3 separate regions of the Homo sapiens genome follow, and regions 1 and 3 are each linked to region 2. Evidence: promoter capture Hi-C in 16 types of primary human blood cells and fetal thymus (Javierre and others, 2016). All regions are on one chromosome and are shown on one strand. Each heading gives the region's core, a stretch centred on a gene start or on the middle of the fragment in contact. The rest is flanking DNA. Distances are from core to core; before and after follow the strand shown. Region 1 has its middle 8.2 kb from the start of RB1CC1. Region 2 holds the start of TMEM68 (transmembrane protein 68). Region 3 overlaps PCMTD1-DT (PCMTD1 divergent transcript).

Region 1 (3,591 bases), core at 690-3,189, 3.1 Mb before region 2:
ATTAGTAACTGTCAAGGCCAGGATTTGAACCCAGGTAATCCAATTGTACGGGCTATATCCTATATATCCTATGCATAGCCTATGCTCCCCCTTAATTTGGTGCTGGTCCTGCAGGGGTTAAAAAAAATTGGCTCAGCAAGGTGGCTCCCAGCTTACACCAGTAATCCCAGCACTTGGGGAGGCCAAGGCAGGTGGATAGCCCTGAGTTCAGAAGTTCTAGACCTGCCTGGACAATGTGGCAAAACCCCATCTCTACCAAGAATACAAAAAAAAAAAAAAATTAGCCAGGCATGTGGTGGCATACGCCTGTAGTTCCAGCCACTTGGGAAGCTGAGGTGGGAAGATTGCTTGAGCCTGGGAGGCAGAGGTTGCAGTGAGCTAAGATTGCACTGCTGCATTCCAGCCTGGGCAACAGGGTGAGACCCTGTCTCAAAAACAAAAAAAGAAAAAATGTCTAGCAATAGGTTACAGAGTTTCTCAATCTCATACCTACCAGTTAATTCTTTGTTATAAGGGGCTGTCCTGTACATTTTAGGATGTTGAACCTCCTTGGCTTCTGCCCACTAGATGCCAGTAGCACCCCAGTTATGACAATCAAAAATGCCTCTGGACATTTTGTAATGTTCCCAGAGGGACAAAATCAACCCCTTTCTCAGAATTCAGGGAAAACGTGGTACATCTATATAATGAAATACTATGCAGCCATTAATATTATATTTTAGAAGAATATTTAAAACAGGCCTGGCATGGTGGCTCACACCTGTAATCTCAGCACTCTGGTAGGCTGAGGTAGGAGAATCACTTGAGGCCAGGAGTTTGAGACCAGCTTGGACAACATAGCGAAACCCTGTCTCTACAAAAATAAAAGTAAAAATATAGACCAGGCGCGGTGGCTCACGCCTGTAATCCCAGCACTTTGGGAGGCCGAGGCGGGTGGATCACGAGGTCAGGAGATCGAGACCATCCTGGCTAACATGGTGAAACCCTGTCTCTACTAAAAGTACAAAAATAAGTTAGCCGGGCGTGCTCGGGAGGCTGAGGCAGGAGGATGGCGTGAACCTAGGAGGCGGAGCTTGCAGTGAGCCGAGATCGCACCACTGCACTCCAGCCTGGGCGACAGAGAGAATAAAAAAAATAAAAATAAAAATAAAATAAAAATATAGCTCTGTGTGGTGGTGCACTCCTCTAGTCTCAGCTACTTGGGAGGCTGAGGTGGGAGGATTGCTCGAGCCAAGGAGTTTAAAGCTACAGTGAACCATGACCACACCACTGTACTCCATCCTGGGCAACAAAGTGAGACCCTATTCTAAAAAAATTGTAAAAATATGTATATTAATTTTTTTTTTGTTTTGAGATAGGGTCTCACTCTCTCACCCAGGCTGTAATGCATTGGCACACCCACGGCTTGTTGCAGCCTCAACCTCCCAGGCTCAAGCAATCCTTCCACCTCACTGTCCCTAATAGCTGTAACTACAGATGCCCACCACCATGCCTGGCAAATTTTTGTATTTTTTGTAGAGACAGGGTTTCACCATGTTGCCCAGGCTGGTCTCAAACTCCTGGGTTCAGGCTCTCCTTTCACCTTAGCCTCCCAAAGTGTTGGGATTACAGGCGTGAACCACTCTGCCCAACCAAAAAATATTTAAAGACAAAGGAAAACAAAGTAGCAAGCTACTCTGTTTTACTATGTTTCGTATTTTAACATCTCTGAAATCTGGGTCCATTTAACAGTGGATGGATAGTGGTCCTCCAAGCTTGTCAACCAATGCCATCCATTTCCTGTGCTTACTATAAGACATCAAAAACACCAGATTGGAAAAAAATCCAAACTATAATGGTGAGAGAATTGATGAATAAGATGTGTTGTACAACATTCCCAAAGACAGCTAGGTACCTAGCACCACAGCTTTAGTTCTTTTATGGATTCTGTAAGGAAATGCTTGTTGCCAGTGCTTTCAGTGCTGCAAAGGATAAATTCTGTGGAAAAACCCAGACAATCTCTGAGTCGGAAGTAATAGTTCAAAAGTGATGAAATTTTAGAAATACCTTTACCAATGTAATTTGCTTGTATTTTCATTTTTATGTATGGGCAATATAATAAAAATGTGTCTAATGAAGTCTAAGAAAGCTTTCTAAGTAAGTACAAAATTAAATTCTAAGTGATTTTTCCTATGTGTATATTTTTCTTCATTTTCCAGACTACATATTTTTGAAAAATGTACCATTAGTCTTTTGTAACTTAAAACGAGTTCTGTTGTTTATCATATAAAATGAATGCTTTTTTCCCAATTCTCTGAAGTCCATTTATTTTAATAACACCATTTGTTTTTTTGCCTTCTTCCTCAAATGATCCCTTTGTTTTAATCAACCCTACCTGCTATCCATTCATGCAAAATACTTTTCCCAATAGTCATTCCTTTTCAGTATGATGTATTAAAAGGACCACTGAACTGAATGTCTGGAAACGTGGGTTCCAATTCTACCTCAGCCTTCTGTGTTGTTTCCCTAGTAGTTCACTCTTCCTACTCTCCATCAGATTGTCTGCACTATTCTTGAATCCCTAATTCCCACCCCTTCCCAGTTCTCTCTTTGGTAAATAATCTCACCTCCTACAACACTGAGGAAATAGAAGCCATGAGAAAAGAACTTCCTCTTCTGCCCTGAAATCTGCAAACCTATTTGCATCCACAAATTCTCTCCAACAGTCACTATTCTGTCCCTTCTATTTAAGGTAGTCGTGGGTTTTTGACTCCATCTCATTTTACCATCTCATTCTGTCATTCTGTGGAACCACTTACTAAGTACAAAATTTAGTTCATGTGTGACATACCTTACAAAACTTAAATATCTTTAAAATTGAAATTTATCCGGTTTCATTGTTTATTCATTTAAAATTAAAAATCAAGAAGTAAAACACTCTATCATCAATATGATTTAGTAGAAACAAATTATATCTTGTAGATGTTATTGAAATTCACTTATTAGTTGCTGGACAATTGTTTACATAAAATGACTTTTTAACAAAGGGTCAAAGTTAAAACTCCTAGGCAGATCTCAAAACTATCAAGTAGTATAGATTTTTTCTTTTTGGTTTTGTAATATTTGTGTGGCTTTTTTTTTTTTAACTTTTAAATTTTGACTGCCTTGATTAAAGTTTCAGTTAAAAAATTTTGCTGTCAATTTCTTTTCTAACCATTACTATTATTGTTGTTCTATTGTTACTGAAACTATAGAGGAATGGGATGTTAAAAAATTATCTACTCTGAGTGTCAAATACACTTCACCACTGGCAGGGCTCAGGGCTCTTCATTTTTTAATAAGTTCTAGGGGGAATTCTAATACAAGGAATGGCTTTGAGAAACAAGACTAAATTTTTAAAAATCCTCACAGTCCTGCTCAATCTTCTTTCTGTCAATAGATGTCGCCCCTCCCTTGAAATAAGCTCCTCAGAAAAATCCTAATCTACACACAAAGCTTTCTATGTGTTTGTATGCTTATTATGGATTAATTTGAACTCATATAATTCTCAGATGTGCCTTAATTTTTAAAATATGTGTATATAGTTTATACACATACATCATAAGTTGGCTG
Region 2 (3,530 bases), core at 531-3,030:
CAGAGCAAGATCCTGTCTCAAAAAAAATAAATAAATAAATAAATAAAGTATATCTATTTTGAACACCCATTACCAGTACTTTTCCATTTTACTTTTAGTATATAAGTCACATTGAGAACATTCTGAAAATGCCAATTAAAAGATATAGTCACTGAAAAACAAGTTTTCCTGTTTCCTTTCTGCATATTTAATAATGGTTTAACAGAGATACAGCACTGTTTTACTGAATAGGACTTCTACTTCAAACCATGAATAAAGCTGCAATTTAGTATTTGTCAAGATAGCTGGTAAATCTAATCCTTTTAGCTTTAATACTTTTTTTATTTCAAGCTTTAAACTCGAGGTTCTGATACAAATTACCCTTCAAGACTTTTCTTTAATCCTAGAATGCCCAACTTCTAGCTAAAATCTTCCACTCTGTTTCATAATTACTGTTCTACCCTTATTATCGTAACCCAGCTACTCATCCCAATAATGCTGCACATCTATACTGGTATATCTGTAACCGTGCAGCACTCTTACCTTCTTGAACCAACAAAATCAGCCTATCTCCGACCTCAAAGTAGGGCAGCAGTAAGGAGGTGGGAATAAACATTTGAAAATGAATATTTCCACTAACTAGTAAATGTGGCCAAAATACTATTGAAAATACCATTCAAAATGCATGAATTTTAGCTCAGTTTTTATATAGTTCTGAAGAAGTACCAATACTATTTTGGCATTTCGTAGCACCAACCACGTCCGAAGCGCTCCAACTTTCAAGTCTGAGCTTGTCTCTGAAGAAGTTGCCCGTGCAGCCTCCATGAATACCACACACCAAATACTAACTGCTTTTTAACAGATCCAGCAACGCTGCTGTTTCCATTTTCTCCATCCTATTTATGCCCACATGAACTTTTTTCTTATTAGATAATTAGTAACTTGAAGGCAGAGACCTGTTTTACAGGCTGCAAACCCCAGGGACCGAGACAGCACTTAACGCCTACAAGGTCCAAACCGACGCCAACGATTAAGCGCACAAAGGAAAGGTGTAATATACATCATTTCGTTTAGTCCTCCCTGCAGCCTCATGTAGTAGTTACTATTAATCAACCCCATTTCACAGGTGATCAAAGGTAAGCTCAGAAAGGTGAAGTTGCCTGCCCAGGTCACAAGGTAGGACCAGGATTCCAAGCCTGATCGGTCTGGATACGAACGCTCTACCCACGCGGCTTTCCCCCTACACTCTCGGGATCACCACACACTTCCCCTTGGCTTTTACACCGGAGGCTCGACCTGGGTCCCGGAACCAGCGAAGCCACTGGGCAAGCCTAGAGGCCTCTACAGAGGCTAGAGACGCCTCGCCCCACCAGATGCATTAGGATGAAACGCGCCGAACCGAAGGTTTAGAGCGCCAGGGGAGAAGAGGGGCGGGGAGAGCAGGCTCTTTGACCCAGAGGAGGGAGGATCTCCACACCCGGCCACTCTGGCGCTGGGGCGCAACACTGAGGCCGGCGGGAAGCCGAGCCTGCCCGCGAAGAGACTGGGGATTCCGAGGCGGCTCCTGGGAGACCGGACGCGCGCGGCCTCCGCCGCTCCCAGTCCCGCCAGACCCGATGCCGGGCTGGAGAAGCGCGGGGGCCGACGCACCTCGGATAGGCGGGGGCAGGGGCAGGGGCAGCTCTCCTTTACCCTAGAGCGGCGACAGAAGCTCTTCGGGGGATCAGTGGCCAAGGGGGCGGACAGATTTGCACGGCGGATTCCTCCGAAGCAACCCGTGTGAAAGAAGCCAAGCGGCGGCTGCAGCCCGGGCCGCGATGGGGGTGACACCGCCCGTGGTCCCGCCCCTTCCCGTGGCCCCTCGGAGCCACTTCCGGCGGCAGCGTCCGGGCTAGTTCCCGGCGCGAGCGGCCGCGGGCCAGTTTCTATCTCCTCATCCAGGGCTTGCGGGCGAGGCCTGTTTTAAGTCTCCAGTAACCGAGCGGAGGCCCGGCAGGCGCGACCCGGGCTGCGTACGTCAGAGCTGCCTCCGAAGTGGTAAAATGTGCTGCGAGAAGTGGAGCCGCGTGGCGGAAATGTTTCTCTTCATTGAGGAGCGGGAGGATTGTAAGATACTGTGCCTTTGCTCCAGGGCATTTGTGGAGTAAGTAGAAAAGAGAATCTCTTCATGTTCTAGCACAGTCATTACCCAGAAATGTAGGTATTGCAAACGTGGTTGTAATTGATCCCTGAAAGCAGCCAGAACATCTGACCCTTGGGCACGGTGATGTTTAAGAAAAACAAAACCCTCAGACATGACGGAGTGGTCGCCCACTGCCATTATTTTTATGTGAAGGACTACATCTACTTGGTAGGCTGCTATGAAAAAATGTCGTAGGTGCTATATGTCATCTCATATTTGTAAATCGAGGGGACATTTAAAAATTGGGGGAAAGCGACATGTAAAATGAAATCTCTAGTAGATATGATGTCATAAAGTGAAAGTTTAAAGTTGAGTGACTTGCTTTGGTTAACGTCTTTTTTTAAACCTAAAAATCTACTTAAGCCCAAATGCACATAATTAAAACTTCAAACTAGTTGAGATAAAAGACTTAACCATATTTACATCAGTTTTTGTGATATCTTTATTTTGGGGAAATCTTTGAATCAGGTAAAAATTGCCCCACATGAAAAATAGCTAGTATGCAGGAATAATACCGCCAAGAGACTTGAATTCTAGGAATTGTTTCCTTTATATTAAATGCGTGAGTTAAACCACTTGAACCTTTTTTTCATCTCTATAACGGGTATATTTAATCTCACATGCTTATTTTGTTAGAGTTAAATCCTTGTGGAAGTGAATTTTATGTGATAGACTTTTAATATAGTTTAATATAGTAGGATTTAAGTTTGAAGGAATTCATTTTTCTCGTGTAATTTTGTGGAGTAATTTGAAAACGCAAAAAGAAGTTAAACTTGTTAAATTTAATGTAAAAAGTATTGTCGCCTTTTTAGTCAGGCATGCATGTAGTCATACAATCATTCAGAAAATGTTTTTTGTGCTCTTGTATATCAAGTATGCTGGTAGGCACTGAGGTACAAGACATTCTGTCCTTACATGTATTGAGTTTACTTCCTAGCAGAGAAGATCAATATTAAGATAACTGGTTACATTATTACTTGGTTGATTATAGTTATAAGTGCTATGAGAGAGAAGTGCAGGATGCTGTGAAAACAAATAACTTTCCAAGGGTCACAGAGGTTTCTTTGAGGAAGTAGCTTTTGGAAAGAGGTCTAAGGGGGATAAATTGGGGTGAGTTTCAGTGGGAGAAAGCGTTCTCTGCAGGCTGAACTCAGTAAAGGCCTTGAGGGAGCAAAAGAAAGCCTGGGAAACTGAACAAAATGGCTGGGAGGGAGGGCACGGTGGTGCACACCTGTAATCCCACCACTTTAGGAGGCCGAGGAGTGAGGATCACTTGAGCCCGGAAGTTGGAGACTAGCCTGGGCAACATAACAACACCTCATCTGTACTGAAATTTTTTTTTAAAATTAGCCAGCTGTGGTGGCACATG
Region 3 (3,410 bases), core at 858-3,357, 3.9 Mb before region 2:
GCCGGGTGAGTGGCTCACGCCTGTCATCCCAGCACTTTGGGAGGCCGAGACAGGCGGATCACCTGAGGTCAGGACTTAGAGACCAGCCTGGCCTACATGGTGAAACCCCGTCTCTACTAAAAATACAAAAATTAGCCGGGTGTGGTGCCGTGCGCCTGTAGTCCCAGCAACTCGGGAGGCTGAGGTAGGAGAATCGCTTGAACCCGGGAGTCGGAGGTTGCAGTGCTGAGATGGCACCTGGCCTGGGCGGCAAGAGCGAAACTCCATCTCAAAAAAAAAAAGAAGAGGAAATGAGGCATAGGGGCAGGCGAGCCGGGAAAATATTGCTACTAAGGATCCTAAGCAGTGAACATGCTGTTAATACTTGTAAGACTCCTAGCAAACTGCATTTAATTTTTTAAATTAGTTTTAGTGTACATAAAGGCATGTCTTTTCCAAATACTGTACTTTTTGAAGTGTTCTTTGTTGTTCATTAATCTTTGTGCGTTTCCCTTCAGTCTCTAATAGTAGGTTGTAGCATGATTTGCTTCCATCGTGTGAATTCTGTTCGGTTTTGATTTTCAAGTATGAGAGTGAGCGTAAGCTACCCTTATAGGTTACCTAAGGTAAGTTAGAATTAGAACGTCTTTATGCTAGGGTTACTACTCCCCACCATAACCAACCATCTGCAAAAGCGTTCAGAAAGAACATGCTAGCAAGGTCAAAAGCTTCAAATCACGAAATAAGAACTTGAAAACGAGCAAAATTGCTGCTGAGGCGCTCTGCCATTTAACTCAAAGGCTTCACTTTATTTAGGTTTAAAGTATGAGTGCATATTCAGTGGACATTGAGCTCCGAACTGTTCAAAATCTCTATTCATCTGCATTCTGGAGTAGAGCTGCGGGTCACATTATTAGCTCCATCTTTGGATTTCTGCCTGGACCCAGGGCACTCCTAACCGTTGTGGGATCATATAACAATCTTACAGGATGAATTTTCTGTTAGTCCAAGCAGAAATTTTGGCACATGAAAACTATCTTACCATAAACAAACAAAAAAAGTACAAATGGTAATCTAAGGAAAATAGCTAAAATCATTAAACAACTCTTACAGCCGTTTCCCCTGTTTTCTCTCCATTTTTTAAAAGCATATTTTCCTTTACTTTCTTCCTTCTGCTATGGGAATTTTTCAGGGTTCTAGACCTTTTTTCTCTTCTGCGGCTGGAAAGTTAAACACAGGTCATTTTTTAAATAAGACTGCTAGTAAATACCTTCTTAATAAACAACACCAAATGCTAGTCTTGTGGGTGAGTAGTTGAACAGCAAGTAAAGCACTCTATCACCTGTAATTTTCCTGTGGTAGGCACACCCCATCTCTACCTTCACGTAATTTCTGATTATGCCTCCATACCTTACACATATAATTCATTTGTGGGTGGGGGCGACAGAGTCTTTTGCTCTTTTGCCCAGGCTGGAGTGCAGTGGCAACCTCTGCTCACTGCAACCTCCACCTCCCGGCTTCAAGCAGTTCTGCCTCAGCCTCCCAAGTAGCTAGGATCACAGGAGCGCACCACCACCCCCTGCTAATTTTTGTATTTTTAGTAGAGATGGGGTTTCCCCTGTTGGCTAGGCTGGCCTCAAACTCCGATCTCAAGTGATCCACCCGCCTCGGCCTCCCAAAGTGTTGGGATTACAGGCATGAGCCACCACGTCTGGCTATAATTCACTTCTTGTGTGTGACTTCCTACTAATTTGTAATCATGAAAGTTGGGCACATACCCAGTATGCTCACTATTTCTCTGCAGGGCCTGATACAGTGGCTGCTACAACACTGATACTCTGCATTTGTTGAATGAGTAATTTAAATTTTAAATTATCATCTAGAATCATTTAGAGATTTATTTAGACTTTGATAAATTTAGATAACCCACACACAGTTTATTCCTAGAGTTCTTGATACATTGTTACAGTAAGTTTGGTCCTGGCAACAGCAATAACACTTACTGTAATAACTTAATTCTTCATACGAGGTTGCTTCACTTTTATTATTAAGCAGAAAATACCCAAAGTAAAATTGAGCTATTTGGGACTCCTTTCAGAATACTGTGTAGGCTGAAGCATTGTTGTATCAGAAGTGCTCTGTTATTTGAATGCATAAGGTATTCAACAAACAAATGCTTATTAAATTAAATGGTATTCAGCATACAGCTACTGTCACCGTGCTAGGAGTTCACATTTTTCATATGCGTGGCAGTTAGCACTGGTGCATGTTTCCTTCAGCCTCAGAAATGGAGGTGTCTGCGTGTTGCCCAGATCTACCTTGAAAACTCTAGTTGCTTCCTAACACCTAGGTTGTATAGTGGGACTTGATTATGTTTTATAAAGCCAAGTCTGGTCTGTGAGGACTGAAAGGATTTCCTCATCTTAACTCTAATTTGGCCTGCAATGTCTGGGGAAAACCCAAAACTAAAATGTAACTAAATGTGGAACTGTTTTTTTCTGCAGTTTGATTTCCTTGTACCATTTTCAGTACAGTTAAATTCATCACCTCCCCTACCTCACCATCCCCCTCCCCCTGCAAAAAAAAAAAAAGCAAAAACAGAAGTATTTTCTCTCTTAAAGAGAATTGTCATTGGCCAGGCACAGTGGCTCACGACTATAGTCCCAGCCCTATAGGAAGCAGAGGTGGGAGAATCATTTGAGCTCAGAAGTTGCAAGATTTCAAGATCAGCCTGAGCAACATAGTGAGACCTCATCTCTGCAAAAAATTTAAAAATTACCTGAGTGTGGTGATGCATGCCTGTAGTCCCAGCTATTCCAGAAGCTGAGATGGGAGGATTACTTGAGCCCAGGAGTTAGTTTCTAATTGGATGTAGTCTGCACAGGCAGATTTCATTTTCAGTATTAAAAAGGTCAGTAATTTCTGAAATATTCACTTGACAATTAATAGGATTAAATGACTTTGGGAAAGCATAATTTTATTTTAAATTGCACATATAATCCCTCAATTACATAGATTTTAATGCTAGGATAATCTTCCAATAAAAGGAAATATAAGTTATCAAAAAATGAATTTCTTTTAGAAAAATAAGCATTTATAATTTATTGTCTACAGTAAACAAAAAGTGACTTTAACTCACAAGTTAAAATTACTCTTATATGGTGCTTAATCTATATAAATATCTTTCCTTTATTAAAAATTCTGCTTCTTAAAAAACAGAATCATGGAGTGGAGAAAAAGGAAAACTTCTGCTTGTAAACTTAAGTGCATCAAAACTGTGGATAAACATCTTTTTAATGTATATGTAAAATTTAATATTTTTTAAAGAATCTATTAAAGTTCAATAAACATTTTCTGACACTATGATAGATGCTGAGGATATTGCAATAATATATGATATAGCTTCTGTCTTAATAAACTTACATTCAAAT

The links. Contacts are between HindIII fragments. The CHiCAGO score rates a contact against its expected background, and 5 or more counts as called.
Region 1: a contact is called between a fragment that was not itself captured here and the fragment with the promoter of TMEM68 in region 2, in 2 of 17 cell types (non-activated CD4 T cells and naive CD4 T cells). The highest score is 8.4, in non-activated CD4 T cells.
Region 3: a contact is called between a fragment that was not itself captured here and the fragment with the promoter of TMEM68 in region 2, in 2 of 17 cell types (total CD4 T cells and naive CD4 T cells). The highest score is 7.9, in total CD4 T cells.

The regions. Positions count from the first base shown.
Region 1 is chr8:52,720,853-52,724,443 of GRCh38, forward strand. No RefSeq gene overlaps it. Among named protein-coding and RNA genes, the nearest start is that of RB1CC1, 8.2 kb to the left of the region's middle. The HindIII fragment of the contact is 374 bases long and covers 1,753-2,126 here.
Region 2 is chr8:55,771,598-55,775,127 of GRCh38, forward strand. TMEM68 (transmembrane protein 68) reads right to left here and starts at 1,781. Exons shown (of 8, transcript NM_001286657.2): 1 at 1,672-1,781. TGS1 (trimethylguanosine synthase 1) reads left to right here and starts at 1,849. Exons shown (of 13, transcript NM_024831.8): 1 at 1,849-2,122. The coding sequence starts at 2,022. RefSeq lists enhancers at 683-1,186, 1,958-2,287 and silencers at 1,408-1,537, 1,628-1,817. The HindIII fragment of the contact is 10,724 bases long and covers 329-3,530 here.
Region 3 is chr8:51,899,842-51,903,251 of GRCh38, forward strand. It overlaps PCMTD1-DT (PCMTD1 divergent transcript), which reads left to right. Exons shown (of 4, transcript NR_189279.1): 1 at 1-5. Among named protein-coding and RNA genes, the nearest start is that of PCMTD1-DT, 2.2 kb to the left of the region's middle. RefSeq lists an enhancer at 252-311. The HindIII fragment of the contact is 2,805 bases long and covers 706-3,410 here.